Regions from separate parts of the Homo sapiens genome. Here region 2 is linked to region 1. Evidence: promoter capture Hi-C in human tissues and cell types (Jung and others, 2019). All regions are on one chromosome and are shown on one strand. The core of a region is centred on a gene start or on the middle of the fragment in contact, and the rest is flanking DNA. Distances in the headings are between cores, read along the strand shown. Region 1 holds the start of CAPN11 (calpain 11). Region 2 overlaps DRC5 (dynein regulatory complex subunit 5).

What was found. Contacts are between HindIII fragments. The study calls those that stand out against the background at their distance.
Region 2: a contact is called between a fragment that was not itself captured here and the fragment with the promoter of CAPN11 in region 1, in 1 of the 25 tissues and cell types used here (spleen).

Annotation. Positions count from the first base shown.
Region 1 is chr6:44,156,421-44,160,649 of GRCh38, forward strand. It overlaps CAPN11 (calpain 11), which reads left to right and starts at 2,400. Exons shown (of 23, transcript NM_007058.4): 1 at 2,400-2,444. The coding sequence starts at 2,429. LOC107986599 (a long non-coding RNA gene) reads right to left here and starts at 2,183. Exons shown (of 3, transcript XR_002956350.2): 1 at 2,165-2,183. RefSeq lists an enhancer at 3,577-3,746. The HindIII fragment of the contact is 19,752 bases long and covers 1-4,229 here.
Region 2 is chr6:44,285,929-44,290,157 of GRCh38, forward strand. DRC5 (dynein regulatory complex subunit 5) reads right to left here. Exons shown (of 5, transcript NM_182539.4): 2 at 1,621-1,990; 3 at 36-604. The coding sequence starts at 1,897. Among named protein-coding and RNA genes, the nearest start is that of DRC5, 9.7 kb to the right of the region's middle. The HindIII fragment of the contact is 7,555 bases long and covers 1-4,229 here.

The sequences.
Region 1 (4,229 bases), core at 1,150-3,649:
GTCCTTATTCTGTCACTAAATCACTTTGCAACCCTGAAGAAAAGGAAGAAAAAGGAACTCTTAGAGGGAAGAAAAGAGACCTCAGAGGAGGAGGAGAACCAGGTTCCACAAAAGTCAACAGGAACCACCAACAGCAGGAACAGCAAACACAGCAAGCCTGATAAAGATTGCCCAGGCGCCAGCAAGGAGCAGGAGCAAAGAGCGCCCAAGGTCCAGCCCCAGGCTGCAGGGAGCTGCGGCAAACACAGCTTGGAGGGTCAGTGTTTATGGGCGGGCTGTGGGTGGAGGATGGGCCAGTGACAGTGGAGGTGAAAGTTGAGGCCTTGGTCCTGGCCTCAGCCTGCATATGTATGTCAGATCTGCAGTTGTGAAACATGAGCTCCCAGGTAGAGTCCCCAAAGTCTTGGGGCCAAGGGAGTGCCTGCTGGTGGTTGGACAAATATTGGCATGGCTTTGAAAGGAGCACCTTGGTTGTGTGAAGGCTTCTCGGTGCTCCCGAAGCCTGTTTTCCGTATGGATGGGCAGGCACACCACCGCCATTTGCCTGGCAAGCCCCCTTGTCTGCAAAGCATGGCCTGGACAGACCTCAGCCCCCACCTCTGGTTAGCCGAGACCCTCTCATTCCTCATCTGCCCAGCATGCCTTCCCTTTCCTGCAGGGCCTGAAGTTCAAAGCCAGGTTCCAGCATTTCCAAATGTGAAACTCCAGATAATGCCCAAGCAGCACACTGAGCAAGAGTCCTGAGGACAGCCCTCCCCCAGGGTGGGAGGCTGTAATAGAGAGGAACACCCGTGCCTGCCTGCACCCTACCCCTGGCACCTCGTCACAGAGTTCATGTCCAGGCAGATCACATTAGAGGCATCCAAGAGGTGCAATAGTGGAATCAGGAGTGGGCAGGGGAGACCACAGGATCCCCAAAGACCACTTCCTCCTTTCACAGCTGGGGGCAGCAGAAGATACGGATAAGAGCTAAAGTTATGGCCGGGCACGGTGGCTTATGCCTATAATCCTAGCGCTTTGGGAGGCCGAAGCGAGTGATCACCTGAGGTCAGGAGTTCGAGACCAGCCTGCCCAACATGGCGAAACCCCGTCTCTACTAAAAATACAAAAATTAGCTGGGCATGGTGGTGGGCACCTGTAATCCCAGCTACTTGAGAGGCTGAGGCAGGAGAATCGCTTGAACCCGGGGGGCAGAGGTTGCAGTGAGCTGAGATTGCACCACTTCACTCCAGCCTGGGCAAAAGAGCGAGACTCCATCTCAAAAAAAAAAAAAAAAAAAAAAATCTGAAGTTATTAGTTTAAATCCTGGCTCGACCGCTTAACAGCTGTGTGACCCTGGGCAAGTTGCATCATACCTCTAGACCTCACTTTCCTCATCTATAAAATGGGAATAGCAATGTCATGGCCTCTGGCTGTTTTAAGGATTAAATAAGTAGGAAGTTCTTAGCCCAGTGTTTGGCACATAATAACAAACCATAATTAATATTCTCGTAGATGAGGAGATTGAGTCCCAGAAAGGAGAAAGGGGGAGGGCTCGCCCAAGGTCAGCTCCTGTTTCAGAGCTTGGAACAAGGTTCTCTGATCCCATTGGGTGCTCTCACACCTGTTCTGTGCCTGATTAGCACCAGGCAGGGCTGAGGGGCACTGGGATGACCTTGACAGTCCCTGTCCTCAGCCATCATACACTCCAGAGAAGACTGCACTCTGGAGCAGAGTTCTTAGCTCAAAGCATTCCCACTTTCCAGTGCAGAGGCAGGACATGTGGTCAGACCAGTGGCCTAACCTTGCCAGACTGGGGCTAGGCAAGGAGAGTGTTGCAGGTGGAATCGTGTCCCCCAAAAAGGCATGTTGAAGTCCTGGCCCCCAGTACTTCAGAATGTGACCTCATTTGGAAACAGGGTGGTTGCAGATGTAATTCGTTCAATTAAGATGAGGTCATACTGAAATGCATGGGACCCTAGCCCCATATGACTGGTGTCCTTATAAGAAGAAGAGACACAGAGGAGGGTGCCATGTGAAGACAGCAACACAGGAAAAATGCCATGTCAGTGAGAAAGGGGCTTTTGGGAATGAGAAGGCTTTCTGGATGTAAAGGTCAGGTTGGTGTGTCAGGGACAACCCCTTCCTGGAAACCTTGGGCTGAAAAAAAGGGACTGGGACCTACCCTGATGGGATGACCGTGATACAGTGAGGACAGCCAGGCTGGTGGAGGCTGTGCAAGGCAGGGGTGCTGGGTCATCTGTCCCTAAAGCGGGTAGCCCTCAGCTGGGTAAGGGGCTGGGTTACTGAGAAGGAGAAAAGGGAAGGCAGCTGTTAAACCGGCTGCTGACCTAGGAATCCCACTGCAATGAGAGAGTTCTGGGGGGAGGGTCTCTTCTCCCCCTCCCACCAGAACCTTCAACTGTCAAGCACCGAGCTAGCCACCAGCATGCTGTACTCCCCAGGTAGGCACTCATGGGGCCTTGCCCCACTCCTGTACCTCCTGCAGGCTAGAGCCTCCCCCCAGGGGAGGAGCTGTGTCCCGCATCAGACTGGGTGCCCCTTGAGGGTACAGAGAGTGACTCTTCCATCAGACTGGATGCCCCTTGAGGGTACAGAGAGTGACTCTTCCATCAGACTGGATGCTCCCTAAGGACAGGACCTGGGCCTCGTTCTCAGACTGTTTGGGGAAGGATAGGCCACTGGTGGTCAGACTGGGTGGTAGGCCGGGCAGGAACTCTTTCTCCTCTCCACTGACAGTTGGAGTTGGGGAGAGGAGAGGGGCCGGCCATCCCACTGTCATGGCTGCTGGGGAAAAGGGTTTGTGTGAAAAAGCCCACGTAGAGAAGAAAACTTTAGGGAACAGAGAGAACCTCTCCTAAGCCTAGAAAAGCAGGTCCCTCAGCCCAGGAAGATGAGATCCTCAGGGTGGCAGGGGCAGGACTACCTGAGGCAAGCCTGGGACCAGACTCCAGGAGATGGGGGAGAGTGGGCTGGGGGGAAGGGGAGGGCTGGGCAGAACTGAGTTGTTCCTGTGGGGCTAGGGTGCACAGAGGGCAGCCAGCCTTGGCCAGCAGAAGGTCAGCCCTGTACCTCACCCTCAGCCTGGGGCACCGTGAGACCATGGGCCCCTAGACCCAGCCTCCCAGCTTCTCAGGCCCTCCCTGTTTACCTGACCCTAGGAAGTTTAGGCCTAGCTGGTGACCCCAAACCCAGTCCTTGTTCTTCAGAAGTGCCCTGAGCCCAGGAGTTCAAGACCAGCCTGGTCAGCATAGCAAGACCTCATCTCAAAATATAATTTATTTATTTATTATTATTACTTATTAGTATTTATTTTTTTTTAAAGTTCCCTGACACAACATCTTAGTTTTTTCCCAGTGCCGGAAATCAAACTGTCCTTAAATCTATAGTCCCCTAATAACAATGTATTGCATTTAGAAAATCACTGAGAGAGGCCAGGCACAGTGGTTCACGCCTGTAATCCTAGCACTCTGGGAGGCCAAGGCAGGTGGATCATCTGAGGTCAGGAGTTCGAGACCAGCCTGGCCAACATAGTGAAACCGTGTCTCTACTAAAATACAAAAATTAGCCATGCGTGGTGGCGGGCGCCTGTAATCCCAGCTACTCGGGAGGCTGAGGCAGGAGAATCTCTTGAACCCAGCAAGTGGAGGTTGCAGTGAGCCGAGATCGTGCCACCGCACCCCAAGCCTGGGCGACACAGCGAGACTCCATCTCAAAAAAAAAAGAAAATCACTGACAGTAGATTTTAAGTGTTCTCACCACAAACAAATAACAAGTATGTGCAGTAATGCAGATATTAATTAGCTCAACTGAGCCATTCCACAGTGAATACATATTTCAAAACACCATGTCGTATACAACAGATATATACTTTTTTTGTCAATAAAATAAAACTGATTTAGTTAAAAACGATCTGGCCGGGCGCAGTGGCTCACGCCTGTAATCCCAGCACTTTGGGAGGCCGTGGCGGGCAGATCACGAAGTCAGGAGATCGGGACCATCTTGGCTAACGCGGTGAAACCCTGTCTCTACTAAAAATACAAAAAATAAGCCAGGCGTGGTGGCGGGCGCCTGTAGTCCCAGCTACTCGGGAGGCTGAGGCAGGAGAATAGCGTGAACCCAGAAGGTGGAGCTTGCAGTGAGCCAAGATCGCTCCACTGCACTCCAGCCTGGGCGACAGAGTGAGACTCCGCCTCAAAAAAAACCTCAAAAAACAACAACAACAACAA
Region 2 (4,229 bases), core at 1,031-3,530, 130 kb after region 1:
GAAGGGGTGGGGGGAAGGCTGGGAGCAGACAGTACCTTGAGGGTGTGGCATGCCTTGATGGCGGCTGCCAAGGAGAGGCAGTCACGGTAGGTGAAGAGGAAGAGATTCCACTCGAAATTCATGCCGCAGTCCTTGACATCGTACACCAGGTCCAGCTCCTCCAGGTGGCTCAGGCCAGCTACCAGATCGCCCAGTTGGTAGTGGTCAACGGTGGGCTCCTCCATCTCTCCCTCGCTGCCTGAGTCGGACTGGTCGCCCGGCCGGAGCTGGGCCGGGAGCTGCACCGGCGGAAGGAACTGATCGACGTGGACCCTGCGCACGTAATTCCGGCAGAGCGGCAGCAGGTCGAGGATCACCGCAGGGTCTGTGGTGCCTGGGATAAAGTGCTTTAGCAGGTTCTCCAGGTGCCGCTCGAAGAACATGCGTTTCCAGCTGCCGCCATGGTGGGCCACGTGGCACACGGGCCAGCGATGCATGCAGCAGCGGAGCCAGTAGTTCTCACTGTCTATCAGGTTGGCGGTCACAGCCAGTGGTAGGTCAGGGGACAGGTGGTTCAGGACCTTCTGCTGGTGTTCCGGGAGCATCTGCTTCAGGATAGGGTTTTCTTTGGGAACAGAGGAAGGAGCGCAGGGGGTCACAGTGTTGGGGGACACCTCAACATGATGCCTCAGGCTGGGCCTGCCTGGGAGCACCAGGCAAAGGAGAGACCCTTCCCTGCTTAGGGGATAGACAGCCTCTGCTCTCAGGGGGGCTCAAGCAGAGGGTGGGACACAGCCTTTAGCTTTGGGATGTTCCCTGCCTGAAGGTGGACATCTCAGCATCTGTTCTCAGGGAGTTCCCAGACTGAGGAAGACTCTCAGGTCCAACTCTCAATTATCACCTGGTCTGATGGGGGATACAATCCCTGAGGTCAGAGGCTTCCAATCTTATTTGATTCATCCATTTCAAAACAAGAAATTTTTTGAGCACCTACTATGTGCCAGACACTGGAGGTAGCACTATGAGAGACTACTATGTCCCACGTGCTGGAGATAGAAGAGTAAGCAAACAGGGCTCTCCCTTTTGGAGTTTACATTCCAGTGAGGGGAGGCTGACAATAAACAAGTAAAATGAGTGAGACTGGGTGATGATAGTTGCTGTAGATGAAATAATGGCCCTGTCCTCAGACAGCGCCCCATCTGGTAGGAGAGGCTGGCAGTCCATCTTTGGAAAGGATCAATATTACAGAGCACAAAATATGGAACAAACCAAGAGCCCTTACATGGCATGGAAGACTCCATCAGAGTAGAGGGCGGTTCACTTGGGAAGGCTTTCTGGAGGAGGAAGTAGATATGGCTCAGGCTGGGTTTTGCTGGAGAGAGTAGAAAAGGCAAGGAGAGGGCAGAGGCATGGAGGGTGCAGTGTGGGTGGGAGTCTGGTGGGACCTGCCAGTGGGAACAGAAGGAGAAACTGTCTTGGCCCTGGGTGGAAGGGAAGTGTTGAGTGGGTATGAGGATGCCATACGGGAGAGCAGGGGCTGCCCCAGGACCCAGCTTCTGCAGTCTTGGCTCCGGACAGTCCCCACCCACCTAGCCCCCCTCTTGGCCTTCTCCTGCCCACCTAAAGCAGGGACAGACTCACTCTGGAAGTTCCTGATAATGTGCTGAATGCAGAGCTCTGTGAGGAGGGGCACGATGGCCAGTGACCACTCAGGATCCTCAGCAATGATCCGGCGCATCCGACGGATATTGGCCCTGGGATGTGGGTTCCTGGACTTTGCAGGGACTGGTGTGATTGAAGGCTTTGAGAGCTGTGGGCTTGTGCTTGAAGTGTGTCCTCCAGTGGAGGAATTGTCCTGGGTGGAGACTGAGGAGTGGCTGGGGTCCAACAATGCTGATGTCGTTACGGTATCCTGCATGCTGGAGGCTGGCAAGGTAGGGGTGCGTGGCCCCTGGATGGCCTTATGACAAGAAGCTTCTCAGACTGGCAGGTCCTTGAAACAGGTAGGGATCTGGAGCAAAAGGAAGAGGGTAGAGGTGTTACTTTGGTGGGTCTTGGTGGGCATTTACTAAGAGAGGTGGTACAGAATAGTGCTTAACGATCAGTCCCTGGAGTGAAGCAGATCCAAGTTATCTGTGTGGCCTTGGGCAAGTTACTGAACCTCTCTGAATTTCAGATGTTGCCTCTGAGAAATGAAGGTCGCAGTTCCAGTAGGATTATTTGGAGGAGTGGATAAAATAATGCATCCAAAGGGCATAATATAGTATCTGACACATGAAACTAGCAAGGAGCAGCCCCAAATTTTAGATAATAGCTCTACAGCAATTACAGTAATTGCTCTGTGCCAGACAATCTTTTTAGTTCTTTATGCCTATTAATTCATGTGTCCTCAGAAAAGCCTTTTTCAGAAAAGGCTTTTTCAGATAGGTGCTTGTATTATTCCCATTTTTCTGCTGGGAAACTGAAGCAGAGAGGCTAATTGACTTGCCCAATGTCATGCAGCTTAGAAGTATCACGGGTGGGTTTAAATTCAGTCTGTCAAATTCATGCTCTGAACCCTACATTGGACCGGCCCTCTGAGGGTGAGGGGTGTATATTGCCAAAAGACACAGATATAATAAAGAGCCATTCAGCTCATAACAGGACCCTGCACTAAGTATTTCATAGAACAGCAACTGCCTGATCCGTAGGATGGGGTTGAGAACAGCTCTGGCCAACAGAAATATAATGCAAGCCAAAATGCAAGCCACATATGCTATTTTAACTTCTTTAGTGCCCACATTTTAAAAAGTAAAGAGAAACAAGGCTGGGCGTGGTGGCTCATGCCTGTAATCCCAGCACTTTGGGAGGCCAACGTGGGTGGGTCCCTTGAGGTCAGGAGTTTGAGACCAGCCTGGCCAACATGGTGAAATCCTGTCTCTACTAAAAATACACAGATTAGCTGGGCAGGGTGGCAGGCACCTGTAGTCCCAGCTACTCGGAAGGCTGAGGCATGACAATCAGTTAAACCTGGGATGCAGAGGTTGCAGTGAGCCAAGACTGTGCTACTGCCCTCCAGCCTGGGTGATAGAGCAAGACTCTGTCTCAAAAAAAAAAAAAAAAAAAAAAAAAAAAAGAAAAACAGGTGAAATTAGCTTTTTTTTTTTTTTTTTTTTGTCTTGCTCTTGTTGCCCAGGCTGGAGTGCAATGGCGCGATTTTGGGTCACTGCAACCTCCACCTCCAGGGTTCAAGTGATTCTCCTGTCTCAGCCTCCCGATTACAGGGATTACAGGCGCCTGCCACCACCCCCAGCTAATTTTTGTATTTTTAGTAGAGACGGGGTTTCACCATGTTGGCCAGGCTGGTCTTGAACTCCTGACCTCAGGTGATCCACCCACCTCAGCCTTCCAAAGTGCTGGGATTACAGGCGTGAACCACTGTGCCTGACCATGAAATTAATTTTATATTTAGCCCAGTATGTCTAAAATGTTATTTAAACATATAATCAATATAAAATTATTAATGCGACATTTTATATACTATGTTTTCATATGAGGTCTTCAAAATTTGATGGCTCAATGGGCACATTGAGCCTACCGTTTCAATGTGGCTACTGTTTCAGAGAGTGCAGGTTGAGAGAGAAAGGAGAGGGGAACAAGACCCATGCCCTGCCCAAGGTGCCAGCACCCTTCTCTCCTCCTTCCCACTGAGAGCTCAAACTCCAGGTCCCTTCCCTTCCATCTCCCCATCCAGTCTTCCTCTAGCTCTCCCAGCCTCCCAGCATTCCAGACAGCAGTGGGCAAGCGTGGGAGGCGAGAAGACAGCTAAATCTGGGGCTGAAGACAGAAGATAGAGGATGTGTCTTGGTCCGGGGACCCTCCCCCATTTGCCCATTCCTGCACCCTTGCACTCCTGCCCTGAGATCTGCTGGAGGAAAGCCCAAATGGGGCTGCTGGCACCTAGTTCCTCCTCCAGGCAGTTTCCCATCAGATGTGCACCCTCACGACTCAGTGCACTGGGTAGTGGCCGGTGGGAGGGAACACTCTGAACCAGCAAAGGCGTCCTTGGCAGAGGGAGGGACCAGATGGTGCTTCCCAGCCTGCCAGGCATCTCAAGGAGGAAAAGCCTGGTTGAGAGGCGGGTGGCAGGGAGAGAGATAGTGCGGGAAAGATATCTAGGTATTGTGACATCCCCTATGCAAATCAAATGCAAATTCACACACAGATTGTGTCCAGAATTGTGGAATAACCAGATAGTGCTTTTTGACTAA